3 separate regions of the Homo sapiens genome follow, and all the other regions are linked to region 2. Evidence: promoter capture Hi-C in human tissues and cell types (Jung and others, 2019). All regions are on one chromosome and are shown on one strand. The core of a region is centred on a gene start or on the middle of the fragment in contact, and the rest is flanking DNA. Distances in the headings are between cores, read along the strand shown. Region 1 has its middle 18 kb from the start of ETV4. Region 2 holds the start of CD300LG (CD300 molecule like family member g). Region 3 overlaps DHX8 (DEAH-box helicase 8).

The links. The method cuts DNA at HindIII sites, captures the fragments that hold promoters and counts their contacts. A contact is called where the count stands out against the background at its distance.
Region 1: a fragment that was not itself captured here is called in contact with the fragment with the promoter of CD300LG in region 2 in 1 of the 25 tissues and cell types used here (pancreas).
Region 3: a fragment that was not itself captured here is called in contact with the fragment with the promoter of CD300LG in region 2 in 4 of the 25 tissues and cell types used here (IMR-90 fibroblasts, liver, mesenchymal stem cells and 1 more).

What each region holds. Positions count from the first base shown.
Region 1 is chr17:43,561,848-43,566,639 of GRCh38, forward strand. No RefSeq gene overlaps it. Among named protein-coding and RNA genes, the nearest start is that of ETV4, 18 kb to the left of the region's middle. The HindIII fragment of the contact is 6,893 bases long and covers 1-4,792 here.
Region 2 is chr17:43,844,134-43,848,566 of GRCh38, forward strand. It overlaps CD300LG (CD300 molecule like family member g), which reads left to right and starts at 3,043. Exons shown (of 7, transcript NM_145273.4): 1 at 3,043-3,126; 2 at 4,425-4,433. The coding sequence starts at 3,084. It overlaps LOC107984979 (a long non-coding RNA gene), which reads left to right. Exons shown (of 3, transcript XR_001753057.2): 3 at 2,131-2,342. The HindIII fragment of the contact is 22,281 bases long and covers 724-4,433 here.
Region 3 is chr17:43,506,421-43,510,866 of GRCh38, forward strand. DHX8 (DEAH-box helicase 8) reads left to right here. Exons shown (of 23, transcript NM_004941.3): 13 at 583-777; 14 at 1,083-1,268; 15 at 1,389-1,599; 16 at 1,919-2,100. Among named protein-coding and RNA genes, the nearest start is that of DHX8, 25 kb to the left of the region's middle. The HindIII fragment of the contact is 8,192 bases long and covers 1-4,446 here.

The DNA.
Region 1 (4,792 bases), core at 499-2,998, 280 kb before region 2:
AGCTACTCGGGAGGCTGAGGCAGAAGAATCGCTTGAACCTGGGAGGCGGAGGTTGTGGTGAGCTGAGATGGCACCATTGCACTTCAGCCTGGGCAACAAGAGCGAAACTCCTTCTCAAAAAAAAAAAAAAAAAAAAGAAAGAAAAGAAAGTTTCCCAAAGTCACAGAGCTAGTGAATAGCAAGGGGAGTCAATGAGTAAGCTCAGGCCAGCAACCCTGCAAATCAGATCTCTCTCCAGCAGAGGTGTGCTCTGAGTGTCCCAGGGATTTGAGAGAGGGGCTCTGCTTGGGGAAGTGGGGAGGCAGCATTTGAGCCAGTCCTCATGGGATGAATGAAATTTCTTCCTAGGAGAGGGGAGAAGGTTCCAGGTTTAAAGAAGCAGCATTTGCCAAGGTGTAGGAGCCAGAAAGGAAATCCTAGGGGAGAGACAAATTTGGGGGTAGTCCTCAAAATTCCTACCCTCAGGCTAGGGAGTGTGAGCATTTTGAAGACCTTGTTTAGGAGCTTGTATTATATCCTATAGATCATGGGAGTCACTGGGGTCGGGGGCAGGGTGGCGGAGCATGGGTAGGTTAAAGCAATTCTGACTGAATCAGACCCTAGGCAAGAGGAAGGAGGTCACTGCCTTGGAATCTTCAAGAGTCGCTCATCCCTGATCCTGTCCCCCTTTTGCCACATAAGATGTGATGCCATCACTCAACTCATCATTCACCAACAAGCTATGGGGCCTGGAACCTTTCTATGCCTCAGTTTCCTCATCTGTAAAACGGCAATACTAGTAGTACCTGCCTCAGAGACCTGGGTGTGCAGGTAAATTGAGATGCTCTAGGGAAGCTCAGGCTTTCAGTAAGGGATCAATAAAGGCTAGTTCCTGTTATCAGATGTTACCTCCCCACCCTGTCCCGGGTCCAGTCAGCATCTCGAAGTCCTGACTCTCAGGAATGCCCCCACTCCGCCTACCAGTCTGATCTAAATCCCTCTGCTGCAGATGGAGCCCAGCTTCCCTGACAGCCTTTCAGGACGGGAAGCTCCATGTTTAGTGTTCCCCACCCTCGTCCAGCCTCTCTAATCTCAGCTCTTCCCTTTCCCCTCCCCTGTGATTATCATAAACCCTCTCGAGTTAGGCAGGCTTGGCTGGGCCCCATGCCCCTTTGAAGTCCCAAGCCAGGTTCCCAGCCTCACACACTGACTTCTGAGAAAGCTGCTTCCCATCAAATCCTGCCGCCAAAAAGACTCTCCTCTTAGGTATTCCTGCCAACTCCGTTTTATAATCTCCGTGCCGGGGAGGGAGGACAGTTCAGGCACTTTGTCTGCAGGAAGGAAGCAATTAAATTATTAGCACTTTGAGAAATTAAACGACATAACTTACGGCGGAATAAGTTTAGCCAAAAAAAAAAAAAAACCTTGTAATGTGAGAAAACAATTAAAAAGAATTATATAAGGTTGGGCTCGCTCCTTTATTGCAATAGAGTTAGCAGTTCATTGATTATCGTCCTGTTATAATGCAGCAGGATGGTGCGGGCTGCTGCGGAGGCAGCGACATTCAGGAAGCAAAGCGCTTAGTTGGGTCCTGCAAGAAGAAGAGGTGGGGGAGCTGAAAGGTTTTCCTGGAGGGCAAGGGGGAGGGGAGAGTGGGGTCAGAGGAGGATCACCAAAGCAGCAGCTCTTCTTCCCTTCTCCCTGCTCCTGCCTTGGTAGACATGGAAAAGAGCTAGTCAATTTCAGCAGTTTGTCAGTTGCTGGGGCAGTCAATTCCCTGTGCCCAAAAGATTCTTTTCCTAGGTATTCATCCAGTGAAATGTTCACACGGCTCCATAAGGAGATGTGGATGAGGATGATCAGAGCAGCCTCATAGGAGGCACCCTGGGTGTCCCTCACTGGGAGAGTGGAAAGGTCAAGTGGGTGGAAGCACCAAGGGGCGCCAGGTAGCAGCAAGAAGCACTGACGCCTGTACACAGAGCCCCGCGATAGATCTCAAAAACGTAGTGCTCCGCAACAGCAAAAAATACAAATTCTCTCTACCCGCAACGACATAGGGGAGTCTCCCAGACAAGTTGAGCAAAAGAAGCAAGACATGAAAGACAGGTACGATTCCATGCAGAGGAAGTTCAAGAAAAAATTCAATGAATGGGTGGAGATGGGAGCTGGAAGAGTGGGTACCTCAGGCAGGGAAGGGGGCAGTTTATTGACTGTGAAGGGACACAAGGGAAACTTGGCTGGGGTACTGGAAATGTTCTATATTTTGATCTCGGTGATGATTACACAGATGTATATGTAGGCTAAAAATCGAGTTTCATATTTCAGATCAGTGCACATTACTCACTTTACCGTATATATGTTATACCTCAACAGGAAAGGAAAGAGCAAACAAATGTTGTAGAGGAAAAAAATTGTAGGAAACAAAATATATAACACAATGCTATTTATGTAAATAAACCCCATGCCTACGAAATAACTACCCATCCTGAAAGAACTCAGCAAACAGATTGGGTGCAGTGGCTCATGCCTATAATCCCAGCACTTTGGGATGCTGAGGTGGGGTGATCGCTTGAGCCCAGGAGTTCAAGACCAGCCTGGACAACACAGTGAGACCCCATCTCTACAAAAAAATGAAAAAAATTACAGTGGCATGTCCTTGTAGTCCCAGCAAGTTAGGAGGCTGAGGTGAGAGGATTGCTTGAGCCCATGAGGTCAAGGCTGCAGTGAACTCTGATCTCACCAGTTCACTCCAGCCTGGGTGACAGAGAAGACCCTGTCTCAAAAAAAAAAAAAAAAAAAAAGGGAATGTATGAATGAATGAAACCAAGAGCAGGGCACTACACAGACCAGTTATGACAACAGGCCATGAACGGAGAGTATGGTAGACTCAACCCTCTCCTTCCGAAGTAGAAGCTTGTAGAAAAAGTGCTAATTAATCATATCAGGAGGTCTTTGGGCTGGGTGTGGTATGTGTAGGGTGTTGGGGCATTTTGATCTGGGGAGTGAGTGTAGATTCAGTCACTGATGCCTACCAGGAGGAAAGGGAGGTACAGATCTAGCATTTGTAAACTTCTCTGCAGTTTGCAAAGCAATGCCATGTCTACCACCTCAGAGAGCCTCACATAGGGTGTTTCCTGGAGGGAGTGAACTGGAGCCAGCCCGCCTGCTACCACCCCAAGATGGGTTTCCCTGGCAGGTGATCTAACCTCTCTGCATCTGGGCCATGGGGATGATAAAAAGAATGTCTAGAGTGAGAGGGGAGTTAGAACACAGTTTAGAGAAGGGGTCAGCCACCTTTTTCTTCTCTTTTCTTTTTTGAGACAGAGTTTCGCTCCTGTCACCCAGGCTGGAGTCCAATGGTGCGATCTTGGCTCACTGCAACCTCCGCCTCCTGGGTTCAAGTGATTCTCCTGCCTCAGCCTTCGGAGTAGCTGGGATTACAGGTGCCCGCCACTGCGCCCAGCTAATTTTTGTACTTTTAGTGGAGATAGGGTTTCACTATGTTGGCCAGGCTGGTCTTGAACTCCTAACCTCAGGTGATCCACCCGCCTTAGCCTCCTAAAGTGCTGGGATTACAGGCACGACCCACTGTGCCCGGCCCAGCCACCTTTTTCTATAGAAGGTCAGGTGGTAAATATTTTAGCCTTTGAGGGCCATAAGGTCTCTGTCATACCTACTCTGGAAGCAGCCATAGATGTAAATGAATGAGCATGACTGTGTTCCAACAAAATTTTATTTATGGACACGGACATTTGAATTTCATGTAATTTTCATATGTCACAAAGTATTATTCCTTTTTTTAACTTTTAGGTTCAGGGGTACATGTGCAGGTTTGTTATATAGGTAAACTTGTGTCACGGGGTTTTGTTGTACAGATTATTTCATCACCTAGGTACTAAGCCCAGTACCCAATATTTGTTTATTTATTTATTTTTTTAGAAATAGGGTCAGCCGGGTATGGTGGCTCACGTCTGTAATCCGAACACTTTGGGAGGCCAAGGTGGGCAGATCACTTGAGGTAAGGAGTTTGAGACCAGCCTGGCCAACATGGTGAAAATCCATCTCTACTGAAAATACAAAAATTAGCCAGGTGTGGTGGCACAGGCCTATAGTGTCAGTTACTTGGGAGGCTGAGGGAGGAGAATAGCTTGAACCCGGGAGGCAGAGGTTGCGGTGAGCTGAGATCGCACCACTGCACTCCAGCCTGGGTGACAGAGCGAGACTCCGTCTCAAAGAAAAAAAAAAGAGAGAGACAGGGCCTCACTCTGTTGCCCAGACTAGAGCACAGTGGCACCATCATGCTCACTGCTGGCTGGAACTCTTGGGCTCAAGTGATCCTCCTGCCTCAGCTTCCCAAGTAGCTAGGGCTACAGGCACATGCCATCACACCTGGATAATTTTTTAATTTTTTGTTGAGACAGAGGTCTTGCTACATTGCCCAGGCTGGTCTCGACTCCTAGCCTCAAGGGATTCTCCCACCTAGGCTTCCTAAAGTGCTGGGATTACAGGTTGAGCCACCACGCCCAGCTGTGAAGTATTATTCTTTTGATTTTTTTTTTCAAACCTTTTAAAAATGTAAGAATGATTCTCAACTTGCAGGCTGTACACAAACAGGTAGGAGGCCATAACTGCTGACCCCTGGTCTAGAGGATAAATGAGTTGGAGCAGTCCTTGGCACATAGCAAGTGCTCAAGAAACCTCAGTTATTATCATTCTCACCCCTGTTGTACAGATGAGGGGCAAAGTGACTTATCCAGGTTTACCAGGGAGTTCACGGCAGAACTGGGCCTCTCATCTGGATCTCCTGAGTCTC
Region 2 (4,433 bases), core at 1,793-4,292:
AGCTGGAGATGCTGCTAAACATCCTATAATTCACAGGACAGTCTCCCACAACAAAGAATTATCTAACTTAAAATGTCAACAGTACTGAGGTTGGGGAAACCTTGATCTAAGAGGAGCAAGTGACCCTCTTGGAGCAGCTGAAGTGATTTAGTCCAAGTCCAAACCGAGAGGAATTGGACCAGGGTGGCCATCGAAGACCAAGCAGCTCAGTCCCCTCATCCCTGCCACTGTACCTCTTGGGCACACAGAGGCCTTCCTGAGGATGTGATGAGGCTGTCACGAGCCCAGTGACCTGTCCAGGAGCCCTTGTGCCTCATTGCCTCTCCCAGGTGCAGTGATGGTGGGGCACCTCCCCATGCTTCTGGTGGGAAGCAGGACAAAAATATCCTCTCTTCTCAGATCCCCAGCCCACCACGGAGGTCTGTCTGTTGGCCCCATCTACCCCAGAGTGTGGCCTAAGGTGGAACTAGGTGCGAGGCTCATGCCAGCACCTCACTTTCACCCTTCTCCCCAGCCCTTGCTCCACTTCCCAGTCTGGTGAATCTGTTTCTAATGGAGTTCTTGAGCCAGCCTCCTGGGCTAGGTGTGGGGCTGGGAAATGGAGGGGAAGGACCTTCAAATATGCAGGAAGAGGGTAGGGATCCACTCAACATGCTCTTTATATAAATAAACATTTAATAACACCTCGCTTACTCTCCTAAAATGACAATCATAAATAATATGCCTTCACAAGCACTTACTTCTTTAAAATCACACTATAGTGCCTGAGCTATACTAGGGAGAAAAAATAAAAGGAAAGCAATTTATAACCAAATAACACATATTTCAATCTGTCAGTGCTCAGGTCCCATGACACTAGAAAGCATAATGAAGTGTCAGATGCTCGTCCTTGCATATAATAAATAAGTCTGAATTTAAGAAATGTAGAGGATCAGAAATTATTCTGTGTAAGGACAAAAATAAATAAATAGAAGAGCAAAGATATGCTATCAAATGCTAGAATAAGTATTACTTTAAGGCCGGGCATGGTGGCTCGTGCCTGTAATCCCAGCACTTTGGGAGGCCGACGTGGGAGGATCGCATGAAGCCAGGAGTTTGAGAAAAGCCTGACAACATAACAAGACCCTGTCTCTACTAAAAATAAAAAATTAGCCAGGCAACAGTGGTGCACGCCTGTAGTGCCAGCTACTTGGGAGGCTGAGGTGGGAGGATCACTTCAGCCTGGGAGTTTGAGGCTGCAGTGAGCTGTGATGGCGCCACTGCACTCCAGTTTGGGCAACAAGAGTGAGACCTGTCTCAAAAATAAGTAAATAAACAAATACTTTTTTTTCTTTTTTTAGATAGAATTTCACTCTTGTTGCCTAGGCTGGAGTGCAATGGTGTGATCTCAGCTCACCACAACCTCCACCTTCTGGGTTCAAGCGATTCTCCTGCCTCAGCCTCCCTGAGTAGCTGGGATTACAGGCATACACCACCATGCCTGGCTAATTTTATATTTTTAGTAGAGACTGGGTTTCTCCATGTTGGTCAGGCTGGTCTCAAACTCCCGACTTCAGGTGATCCACCCGCCTCAGCCTCCCAAAGTGCTGGGATGACAGGCGTGAGCCACCATGCTGGGCCATAAATATTTTTTAATCTGTGTTTTTTTAAAACTGCAAAAACAGATCACCTTTTGTAGTCTGTACATGTAAAAGAGAGTCAGGGGCTGAGATCATGGTAACAGTTTTCCCCACCGTGAACAGCTGGCCCTGCCCACTAAATGGCAGCAGTGCTTCGCAGTCATTGTGAAATTAAAACACTTCTCCCCACGTTACTAGACTCACACACACACAATCTTCCCTCCCAGAACCACTGAGTTAATGCTTCAGATATTAACCTGACAAGTCAGTAAAATTCCAACTGAACATTTGGAAGGATATATGCCAAAATATTAATGGTGCTTTTCTAAAGCAGAAGGGGAATTACAAGAAGCACTCCCTTTTTTCTTTCTTTCCTTTTTACGTTCTGTATTGTGTAAAATTTTGCTTACAACCTGTATGAACTTTGCAACCAAACCAAAAAAAAAGTCATTTTTGAAGCCAGTGTGTCAGAGCTCCCAGTAGTGTACATGTTTGTTTTGGTCCTTTCAAGGAGGATTCAAGTCTGCGATGGAGAAACCACCAATTCACTTTTTCAAATGCCAAAACAACTCCGCAGGCGTGGAGGAGACCTATCTTGCAGCGCTGTAGGCCCAAGGCACCAGGGAATCCGGTCCAGCTCAGCCCTACAGCTTTGCTCAGCCCCGTCTGCACCGCCGCCCCGTGGCCAAGGGCAGTACTGCGTCCTCCAAAAGGCAAGGGCGGAGGAGGGGCCAGGGGCCTTGCCCCAGGGGCAAGCTTCTTTCTGTCCCACTGACCACATGGCAGTCTGGTGAAGTTTATGGACCCCTCTCTCAGTATAATGGCGGGTAAATATATAAATAAAATATATATGCTGGAAAGAAAACTAATACTGGTGAGATGATTCTTAAAACTCTTTATAAATGTGTAATATAATAATAGCCGTTTCATTATTGTAAATAACCAGCTCTAGGGGCAGGTCTAGGAACTCATTGTTTTCCAAGCAGTGAGGGGTATACACGACGTTTCGAGATATCCACAACTTGATGTGCCAGTGTCTGTGATTGTAATTGGTAACAAAGTTGCAGGTACTGCTAACAGTACACTCTGAATAAGAGGAAAAGCTAAATATTAGAAGTTGATGAAAGTCAATATGTAACTTTTTCCCATGCGAATTCGACTTACAGACCCCTTAGGGCGCACGGACCACAGGTTAAGGCCCCCTTGAAGGGGCACGAGTTTAGGAGAAACTCTGGTGTGGGTTTTCAGTCCTGGAAGGTGAGCCCTGGGGTAGGCACGCGTGGGCGCTCAGAAAAGGGAAGGCAGAGGCGCCTCCCCGGCTGGGCCTGCGGAGGGATGACCCACACGCCCCTCCCCTCGCTTCCTTGGCCTGGTTTCACGCGACTAGAGAAAGTTAAAGACCCGTGTGACTGAAGAGGAGCTCACAGTTCCCAGCGTCTGCTCCCACGGTGTCCAGCGCCCAGAATGCGGCTTCTGGTCCTGCTATGGGGTTGCCTGCTGCTCCCAGGTGAGATGGGGAGAGGGTCTCGGGAGGGATGTGGGGCTCACCCTTGTGGTCTGCAGGGAAAGGACCTCTTGACTGACTGATAGCCCCACCCCACCTATCCTCAGCCTCCTCAGCCCTAGGGGAGCGGGGCGGGCTGGGGGTGGGGGGAGGTGGGGGTGGCGCCGGGGCCGCACTTGCTGTTTCTGGAACCTAGAGCCAGGTTTTCTCCAGACCTGTGGGTTTCCCCTCATGGCAATGTGGCTGTGAGAGTTGCTTTGCCTCTCTAATCTTAATTTTTCTACCCTGTGCCAAGCCTGGAGGCGGACAAGACACCCCATCTGGTTGCCCTGTTAAACTCAGCAAATATTTGTTGAATTTCGGCTATGCCTCTCCCCACAACCCTGAAAGATGAAGAATTATCACGTTTCATCAATTCTTTTGCTTTCTTTTTCTTTACCTTCTAACACTTAAAATCAGGATAAATCCTACAACTGATGTCAGTTGTTCAGTTGGCAATAGTGAGACCCCATCTCTACAAACAAACAAACAAACAAACAAACAAAATTAGCCAGGCATGGTGGTGCACACTTGTAGTCCTAGCTAGTGGGAGGCTAAGGTGGGAGGATCGCTTGAGCCCCAGAGGTCAAGGCTACAGTGAGCCATGAGCACCATTGCCCTCCAGCCTGGGCAACAGAGTGAGATCCTGTCTAAAAACAAAACAAAACCAGGCACGGTGGCTCACGCCTGTAATCCAAGCTCTTTGGGAGGCTGAGGCGGACGGATCACAAGGTCAGGAGATCAAGACCATCCTGGCTAACACGGTGAAACCCCGTCTCTACTAAAAATACAAAAAATTAGCCGGGCATGGCAGCACGTGGCTGTAGTCCCAGGTACTCAGGAGGCTGAGGCAGGAGAATCACCTGAACCCGGGAGGCAGAAGTTTCAGTGAGCAGACATCGGGCCACTGCACTCCAGCCTGGGCGGCAAAGTGAGACTCCATCTCAAAAACAAACAAACAAACAAACAAAACAAAACAAAACACTCAGAAACCCTGCTGGCTATCTGGCTGTCAGATTCTATCTGAATCTAGAACGCCACCCCTGCACCCCAATTCCTCAATGGGCCAGGGTTAGGGAAACAGCAACAGCCCTGCCCCAAGTTCCCCCAGCGTGGGAGGTTAGTAATGGCTCTTCCAAGGCTGTCCCCAGAAGGGATGACTGAGAAAAGCCTTCCTTCTTCCTCCTAAAATGGAAGCTCTGGCCTTGACCTTGGTACATGGAGCCTGGTTTTTCCAACCTCCACTCCTGCTCTGATTTTAGGTTATGAAG
Region 3 (4,446 bases), core at 1,648-4,147, 340 kb before region 2:
CCAGCCTGGCCAACATGGTGAAACCCTGTCTCTACTAAAAGTACAAAAATTAGCCGGGCGTGCTGGCGGGCACTTGCAGTCCCAGCTACTTGGGAGGCTGAGGCAGGAGAATCACTTGAATCCGGAAGGTGGAGGTTGCAATGAGCTGAGATCATGCCACTGCACTCCAGCATGGGCGACAGAGTGAGACTTCATCTCAAAAAAAAAAAAAAAGCCTTTTTTTATGGGCTGTATTATTTGGATAGGCTCTGGTTTATTTAACTAGTCCTATATCCATAGAAACATCGTTGATTGTAATCCTTGGCTGTTACAAACAACGTAGAAATAAGAAATAACTTTTGGGGAAAGATATAGAAATTTGGGAGTTACAGTGGGAAGGAACATTTTTTATGTATCTTTTAAATTCATTGTTGACTTCTTTAACTATATGTGTATATTCCTCTTTTCTTTGGTGTTAGAATATAGTAATTATTTTATTCCAGAGTAATGTAGATTTTAATGACCATATTTATATTCTGTTTAATGACCATATTTATATTCTGGCAGATTTTAATGACCATATTTATATTCTGTTGCTTTCAGGCCGTCCATGACAATCAGATCCTGATTGTCATTGGTGAGACAGGATCTGGAAAGACAACACAGATCACCCAGTACCTGGCGGAGGCAGGCTACACTTCCAGGGGCAAGATTGGGTGTACCCAGCCCAGAAGAGTGGCAGCTATGTCGGTGGCCAAAAGAGTGTCAGAGGAGTTTGGTTGTTGCTTAGGCCAAGAGGTAAGTAGATAGTGGAGTCGCTCGAAAAATACCAGAAGCAAAGGCCCAGGTCTCTTAATCTATCAAATGGAAATATTAATAATACTGCCTTTTTTCAGGTTTCTCCTGAGGGAGAGAGGGTTCCCATTGTCATAATCAGTCTGTTCAGAGTATAGTCTAAGACATACCTTACTATGAGGAAATTACTGTACATCTTGATCAGATTCTTAAGATTATGAGTGAGAGTGACTGGGCTGAAATCTTGCCTGGTGATTGGGAAAAGGAGACATTTGTATCCTAGGTTTTCCCCTTCTCTTCTGCTTTAGGTGGGCTACACCATTCGATTTGAGGACTGCACTAGCCCTGAAACAGTCATCAAGTACATGACAGATGGGATGTTGCTTAGAGAGTGCTTGATTGACCCTGACCTCACTCAGTACGCGATCATCATGTTGGACGAGGCACATGAGAGGACAATTCACACTGATGTGCTCTTTGGATTGTTGAAAAAGGTAACTAGATGCTCTTTAATGACCCCTCTACCTGTTGGAAGCTGAATTCTGGCAGTTGGATTTGAGTACCTGTGTCTTTGGGTAGTCCTTTTCAGTAAGCCACATAATATTTCTCTTCAGACAGTTCAGAAACGGCAGGACATGAAGCTGATTGTCACCTCAGCCACCTTGGATGCAGTGAAGTTTTCTCAATACTTCTATGAAGCTCCCATTTTCACCATCCCAGGTCGAACATATCCAGTGGAAATACTGTACACAAAGGAACCTGAGACAGATTATCTGGATGCCAGCCTGATTACTGTTATGCAGATTCATTTAACAGAACCACCAGGTAAGGGGAAAAAGCAATTTTCCTTTTTGGGAGGCCTAATTTTCCCTCTTAGGCCAAAAGTCCTCATATGGGTATCTTTTTTGCTAATCTTTTTAAAAACAACTTCTAAATATTCATCTCTCTGCAAGCCTCAGGCTTGTATGTTTGAAATGATGGTGGTTATAATGTCATATATAAACAAACTTGTATTGTTTACTTACTGGTCAGAATATGAATGCATATGTTCTGTTATTTGAAGTTTTATTAATATCACCATAGCCCTTGTATAGGACACACATACACACACAGAAAGTAGATGAATGTTCTATTCTGCTCGTAGGTGATATCCTGGTCTTCCTGACTGGTCAGGAAGAAATTGATACTGCTTGTGAGATCCTGTATGAAAGAATGAAATCCCTGGGACCTGATGTTCCAGAGTTAATTATCCTCCCAGTGTACTCTGCTCTTCCCAGTGAGATGCAGACCCGAATCTTTGACCCAGCTCCACCAGGCAGCAGAAAGGTAACATGGGCAAAAATGAAGCTTCCATGTGCCCTGAAACCATGTGTTGTGTGCAGCCTGTCAGCCATAGTAGGGATTGCTTAGGGTGTATGCAAGTCTTTTTTTTTTTTTTTTTCCTCGAGGCAGAGTCTCGCTCTCACCCAGGCAGGAGTGCAATGGCACCATCTCAGCTCACTGCAAGCTCCGCCTCCCGGGTTCACGCCATTCTCCTGCCTCAGCCTCCTGAGTAGCTGGGACTACAGGCACCTGCCACCACGCCTGGCTAATTTTTTGTATTTTTAGTAGAGACGGGGTTTCACCGTGTTAGCCAGTATGGTCTCGATCTCCTGACCTCGTGATCCGCCCGCCTCAGCCTCCCAAAGTGCTGGGATTATAGGTGTGAGCCACCGCGCCCGGCCAGGTGTATGCAAGTCTTGTTTGTTAGGTTTCAGAGACTGGTCCAACCAATTTGTTTAGGAATGAGGTCCAACCAATTTGTTTAGTATGTGACCTCTCCTCTTCTTCCTCTTCTTCATTTGACAAATATTTTTTGAGCATCTACCAGGCTTTGGGCTACACATGGGAGCTGCATTGTGAGAACAAGCCTCTATCTGCTGTGGGGCATCCCCCAGTCAACAGACTTTCAGCATTTAGTGTGAAAATGCCACTCATGCTTGGATACCCAGGCGGGAGCACCCAACCCTGTCTTCCTAGAGGAAATAAGGATCTAAGGTAGTCCTGGAGAACTCTTGAAAGGCAAGGGGACAAGCATTCTAAGGACACAGAACTATCTGTGATGGCCTGGAGACGAGCAAGTAGGGCCAGTTCAGGGAATGGCATAGTTCCAGTGGCTGGAACCAAGTATATGACTGTGTGTATGAGACAACAGGAAAGGAGACAGATGGATGTAGGTATTTTTTTAGTAACAGTTTTATTGAGATATAATTTACATACCTTTCAATTAACTCCCTCCACCTCCCACTTATTTTTTTTTTTTTTTTTGAGATGGGGTCTCAGTCTGTCACCCAAGGTGGAGTGCAGTGATGTGATCTCAGCTCACTGCAACCTCTGCCTTTCAGGCTCAAGTGATCCTCCTGCCTCAGCCGCCTAAGCAGCTGGGACTACAGGTGCATGCCACCATTCTTGGCTAATTTTGGTTTTTGTTTTTGTTTTTGTGTTTTTTTTTGAGACAGAGTTTCACTCTTGTTGCCCAGGCTGGAGTGCAACGGCACAATCTCGGCTCACTGCAACCTTCACCTCCCAGGTTCAAGCGATTCCCCCGCCTCAGCCTCCCGAGTAGCTGGGACTATAAGCACCCACTACCACGCCTGGCTTATTTTTGTATTTTTAGTAGAGATGGGGTTTCCCCACGTTGGCCGGGCTGGTCTCGAACTCCTGACCTCATGTGATCTGCCGGTCTCGGCCTCCCAAAGTGCTGGGATTACCGGCGTGAGCCACTGCGCCCAGCCAATTTTTGTATTTTTTTTGTAGAAACACAGTTTCGCCATGTTGCCCAGATTGGAATTTACTGTTTTTTGTTTGTTTGTTTGTTTGTTTGTTTGTTTTGAGATGGAGTTTCGCTCTTGTTGCCGAGGCTGGAGTGCAATGGTGCGATCTTGGCTCACCGCAACCTCCGCCTCCCAGATTCAAGTGATTCTCCTGCCTCAGCCTCCCGAGTAGCTGTGATTACAGGCATGTGCCACCACACCCGGCTAATTTTGTATTTTTAGTAGAGACAGGGTTTCTCCATTCTGGTCAGGCTGGTCTCGAACTCCTGACCTCAGATGATCTGCCCCCCTCGGCCTCCCAAAGCGCCGGGATTCCAGGTGTGAGCCACCGTGCCCAGCCAGAATTTACCCTTTTAAAGTGTACAGTTCAAAGGCTTTTACCCATGGTATGTGGGGATTGGTTCCAGGACCCCCGAGGATACCAAAATCCAAGTATGCTCAAGTCTCTTATGTAAAATGCCATAGTATTTGCATGTAAACTATGCACATCTTCCTGTGTGATACTTTATCTCTAGATTACCTATAATACCTCATACAGTGTAAATGCTATATAAGCAGTTGTTTTACTGTATTTTTTATTTGTATTTTTTTATTGTTGAATTTTTTTCCTCAAATATTTTTAATCTGCTGTTGGTTGAATCCATAGATGGGGAACCAGCAGATACAGAGGGCTAACCATATTCACAGAATTGTGCAGCCATCACCACAATTATATTTAGAACAATTTTATCTCCCTAAAAAGAAATGCTGTACCCTTTAGCAGTCATCTACCCCCATTTACTCCTCTGCTCAGCCTCTGGAAACCACTAACCTATATCTTCCATCTCTGTGGATTTGCCTATTCTAGACATTTCATATA